Linked DNA regions of Homo sapiens: region 1 is linked to region 2. The links are contacts of gene promoters, found by promoter capture Hi-C in blood cells and fetal thymus (Javierre and others, 2016). All regions are on one chromosome and are shown on one strand. The core of a region is centred on a gene start or on the middle of the fragment in contact, and the rest is flanking DNA. Distances in the headings are between cores, read along the strand shown. Region 1 overlaps STK17B (serine/threonine kinase 17b). Region 2 holds the start of ANKRD44-AS1 (ANKRD44 antisense RNA 1).

Evidence for each region. Contacts are between HindIII fragments. The CHiCAGO score rates a contact against its expected background, and 5 or more counts as called.
Region 1: a contact is called between a fragment that was not itself captured here and the fragment with the promoter of ANKRD44-AS1 in region 2, in 2 of 17 cell types (non-activated CD4 T cells and fetal thymus). The highest score is 5.6, in non-activated CD4 T cells.

The regions. Positions count from the first base shown.
Region 1 is chr2:196,163,631-196,166,330 of GRCh38, forward strand. All of the region lies in intron 1 of STK17B (serine/threonine kinase 17b), which reads right to left. Among named protein-coding and RNA genes, the nearest start is that of STK17B, 6.6 kb to the right of the region's middle. The HindIII fragment of the contact is 1,306 bases long and covers 743-2,048 here.
Region 2 is chr2:197,196,600-197,199,299 of GRCh38, forward strand. It overlaps ANKRD44-AS1 (ANKRD44 antisense RNA 1), which reads left to right and starts at 1,392. Exons shown (of 2, transcript NR_135584.1): 1 at 1,392-1,490; 2 at 2,319-2,674. All of the region lies in intron 1 of ANKRD44 (ankyrin repeat domain 44), which reads right to left. RefSeq lists an enhancer at 2,438-2,507. The HindIII fragment of the contact is 4,177 bases long and covers 1-2,589 here.

The sequences.
Region 1 (2,700 bases), core at 146-2,645, 1.0 Mb before region 2:
CATTTCAGAATAAAACTACGGTAAAAATCCTCTCAATTTAAAAAAAATAGTTATGATAAAATTATAATGCAAACAATCACTTAGTTTCATCATAAAACTCCATTCTTTAAAGTTATAGAGGTTTCAGCTGGACATGGTGGTATACGCCTATAATCCCAGCACTTTGGGAGGCTGAGGCAGGAGGATCACTTGAGGCCAGAAGTTCAAAACCAGTCCTGGCAACATAGCGAGATCCCATCTCTATGAAAAAATTTAAAAATTAACTGGGTGTAGTGGCTCGCACCTGTAGTCCCAGCTGCTTGGGAGGCTGAGGCAGGAGCATCACTTGAGCCCAGAAGTTTGAGGTTGCAGTGAGCTATGAATGTGCTACTGCAGTTCAGTTTGGGCAATAAAGCGAGATCTTATCTCAATAAATAAATAAATAAATAAATAAATAAATAAATAAAGTTATAGGTTTCACATAATAGGTAATTTAATACGACAAGATAATAATTATTCATTTTAAACTTATTTTCACATGGCTAAAGAAATTTGGTGGTAAATGCACATATTGTGAGTTATATTACTGACGTGAAGGACTACAAGAAATAGAACTTCTTCCACGGATTGGCTATGTTTCAGTACTAAACTCAGAAACTCTCAAAGGTCTTAAGAGTCCCTCCTTTGACAGGACCTAGCACAGAGCCTGCTATGTATGAAGTGCTCAATAATTTTGTTGGAAGAGTGACTAACCTATACATAAAGCTTTATTTCGAAGTTCTGTATCTGAAGCTCATATATGTATCTGGAAATTTGTGATGTTTATATGCATTCAGTGTTATCAAAACTATTATATTAATTGCATTCATAAAACAATAACAGATACTATATTTCAAGACACTTATGACTTATTGCTATGCCTACTTAATAAAATATCAATTATTATTCTTTTAGCACCCTCCTGTAGTAACCCGCTAAGCATTTGTTCCTCCTCTGACATCTTTTTTTCCTATTTTCTACTTATATGTACTGTTCTTTATCTTCTTAAATTCAAATGCCAACTATAGTCTACTTAGCCAAAAAGCAGTGTCATTAGAGTTCAGCGTTTTCAGTTTCTACATTTTCTCTTCTTGGTGTTATTCTCAAATTATGAACGCGTCACTGCAGTTCAGCCTGGGCGATAGATGGAGACCTTGTCTCAAAAAATTAAATTAAAATTATAGCTTTCACATAACTAGATAGTAAAATTGTTTTCTCTACATCTCTTAGTCTTTGGGGAAACAGCTCTAACTAGTTTTGGGGTACATCTCTAGGAGTCAAAGGGTTGTAGTGTAGCATTCTGAGAATAACCTTTAGACTGAAAGACACCTGGGTCTGAATTCCATTCATCCATCATACCAGCTATGAGACCTTAATTAAATTATTTAACTTTGCTATTGTTATGGGCTGAATTGTGTCCTCCCCCAAATTCCTAAGTTGAAAAACCCTAACCCCTGTATCTCATAATGTGACTGTCTTTGGAGACAGGGCCTTTAAAAAGGTGATTAAGTTAAAATGAGGTCATTAAAGTGGGCCAATTAGGACACAGACACACACAGAGGAAAGACTATGTGAACACACTAGGAGAAGGCAGCCATCTACAAGCCAAGAGGGCAGGCCTCAGAAGAAACCAACCCCGCAGACACCCTGATCCCAGATTTCTAGCCTCCAGAATCGTTGAGAAAATATACTTCTGTTAAGTCGCCTGATCTGCGGCAACACAGTTATTTAAAAAGAAAACAAAATATATAATATTTCAAATGTAAGATAAGGAACACTATATACAAACATTTACTTTCCAATCTTATTACTTGGTCATATTTCATTTAAATTAAAAATAAAACATATTAGACATAGCCCCTTCTTTCCACCCCCAGTTTACACTCCCACTAGCACTGGATGGGACGGTTTATCACTACTTTGACAATACTTGCCCAATTCAGACTTTTAAGTTTGGCTATTCTAGTGTGATGAAGGTGAAATGGAATTTTGTTGTGATTTACTTCGCATTCCCTTTTACTGGTGAAGAAAGCTTCGATTTTGCTGCCTCTAAAGTATGGATGATAAAAGAATTGATCTTCCAGTGCTGCAAGGATTAAAAATTAAAATATGCTGAACTCATGTCCACTGACACAGGTACAGTGCAAGTCACAAGGGCATATCGCTATTGTTCCACAAAACAAAATTAACATTCTACCCAAAAATACTCTCCCTGCAGTTCCCTGCCATTGTTGAACAGCTGTACTGTTTCCATGTACAAAATTCTCATCCCAACTTAGTCTAAACTTCATTCTTAAAAGTATTTTTGTTTTCTGTTTTAACTACTTATGTATCTTCTTAGTTCTGATAGCGCTCAGTTTCACTGATTTTTTTCCATTGTTCTGAAAGATCAATATGGGTACCAATTTCCTCATAAGTTCATCTATTTATTAAAAATATACCTACATCACAAGCTGCTTTAGGCATCCATTAAGCATTTCTTAAGTTCATTTTCCTTTTATTTACTGCATCTGAACCAATTGTCAGAGCCAAGATATTTTTCCATTTCCTCTCCTTTGGCCAGTTTTGCATATAGTGGAGCATGAATGTCACCTTTGTCCACCAAGCCCTCCTCAAACATCTGGTTGCCCTTCATATAAGGTACATGCAGGTTATGAGTCAGCTCTCTGTCGCTCCTTCTTG
Region 2 (2,700 bases), core at 142-2,641:
AGAAAGGTGGCAATCTCCTGCTACATTTGAGGAGGCTGGAACTACTGTATACAAGATATATGGATTAACTCAGTCACATTAAATCATTCATGATTTAGGCAACTCCAGATTGGGTTTGTCTAAAATCTGTTAGCACCTGGGTTCTTTCCAAACACCAGCAAGCAATTTTTACACAATCAGGTCTTTCCAAAGCCCATGACAATTTTCCTTTAAACCCTCTCCTTCCCTTCTACTGTTCTTTTCTTTGAATTCCACGTGCATTCTTGGAAAGACAGCAAGCAGTTAAACTCTCACCACCTCTCCACAGGTGAGGGACTAGGGACATGTGTAAAACGGAGTCACCTTCCTGTTCTGGCCATTGTCAATTTTTTTTTTCCTAAGGCATCTTGTTATAGCAACCATTCTAAAATTGTTATAGCAACCATTCTAAAATTTAAGGCAGTGGGTTGATCAGGACCTGAATTAGTTTCTGCCTGAGATGACTGGAAGGTCCCCTACTCCCTCCCCAGCCAGAAAAAGTCACATGGAATGAAAATCTATTAGAGAATCCCCTCAGTGTAGTCTTTCAGGAAGCATCTTCTCATTTCCCCATCCAAAATCATGGTAAGGACATCCAGTGACAGATGTCAAAGGGAAAGGATAAGGCAGCAGGAAGAGAGAGGAGCCTAAGAGACTGGAAAACATTCGATAATATAAAATGGGAAAATGGGAAATTCTGCAAAAAAAAAGAAGTCATATCATATTTCCTTTCACAGACACCAACCCAGTGCGTAGCTCCTTTATTTCTTTACACACTACCCCCTCCAACAGGGGATAAAAGATATGTTTTCTAAAACTTAATTTGGTACATTTCAGATAACCACATTCAATTCAACAAAGATGTATTAAGCATAAGACATTTACTGAGCATAAGAAATTCAGACACTGGAGGCCGGGCGCAGTAGCTCATGCTTGTAATCCCAACACTTTGGGAGACCAAGGCAGGCGGATCACTTGAATCCAGGAGTTCCAGACCAGCCTAGACACATGGTGAAACCACATCTCCACTAAAAATGCAAAAATTAGCTGGGCACGGTGGCGCACACCTGTAGTCCCAGCGACTCGGGAGGCTGAGGTGGGAGAACCAACTGAGCCCAGGAAATTGAGGCTGCAGTGAGCCATGCTCACACCATTGCACTCCAGCCTGGGTGACAGAGTGAAATCCTGTCTCAAAAAAAAAAAAAAAAAAAAAGAAAGAAAGAAACACAGAAAAAGAAAAAGAAAGAAAGAAATTCAGACACTGGAATGTCAGAGTCAGTCTCTCCCTTGATGAGGTTACCAAGGTGTAACAGGAAGTATACAAATACGCACAGCTAGAATGTAAGGCACAGGCCGCAGGAGAAGTGCATGGAGAAGGGAGAGAAATTGTACCTGGCCTCCTGAAAGACGCAGCCTCTGAAATGAATATTGAAGACTGGGGAGGATTTAAACAGGTAGAGACGGATGGAATGGTAAGGGACTTTCCCTTCTTCATATTCAGAAGGCTGTGAGCAGAAGCTAGGGAGCCTGAACATACACAGGGAACAGTTTCATTTGGCTGGAGGAGGGGAGAAGTGAGGTAAGCTGAGTAGTAGACAGGGATCCTATCATGGAAGGTCTTGAATACCAAGCTAAGAAATTTGAGCTCTCTTCTGTGGAACTGGGGGAGCAGTGGGTGGTTTTTGAGCAGGGGAGTGACCTAAGATTTGTGCTTTAGAACAATCACTCTAAAAATGGATTGTATGATGACCTGGAGGAAAAGGCTGGAGTGTCATAACAAGTTAGGAAACTGCAATAATAGTCTGCACAAAGGGCTCTGGGGATGGAGTACCGCTCAGTTGTCAGAGGAAGCATTCTTCTGGTGGTAATATGTGAATCTAAAAGGTAAATTTGACCGGGCATGGTGGCTCACGTCTGTAATCCCAGCACTTTGGGAGGCCGAGGCAGGTGGATCACCTGAGGCCAGGAGTTTGAGACCAGCCTGGCCAACATGGTGAAACCCCGTCTCTACTAAAAATACAAAAAATTAGCCAGGCATGGTGGCGTGCCCCTGTAATCCCAGCTACTCGGGAGGCTGAAGCAGGTGAATCGCTTGAGCCCGGGAGGTGGAGGTTGCAGTGAGCTGAAATCGTGCTACTGCACTCCAGCCTGGGCGACAGCAAGACTCCATCTCGAAAAATAAAAAATAAAATAAAATAAAATAAAATGTAAATCTAGCTCCACCTTTAATGTAGCAAGGGCTAGCCTCCTCAGGAGTGGCTGCCTACATTCAAAACGATTCTCACCAACTTCTTCCACAGGACACAGGGCTCGGGAGCAGCGCCAGCCCGACATCGGCGGAGGAGCACCGGAAGTTCTGCAGCACTGGCTTTCTTTGCTCTTCCACCTATGCAAGCTCCTTCTCTCTTGTGGCTTGCCGAGCCTGGTTAGCTCTGAGACCGGAAGTTCTGAAGTCAGCTGGCATCCTACATCTGTGCAACCTACTTCTCTCCCCATCCCACCACAGAAACCAGAGCCTCGAGGCTTTTGGCTTGGGTGCTGCCTTCACAGTTTAGGTTTTGGTAAGAAGAAAGCTTATCTTCATGTCATGAGAAAGAAAAAAAAATGTATCTTTACGTAACGAGCTGAAAGAACAAAACAAGTATACCTAAGCCAAGTACATGCTATCTTTATTTCTTTATT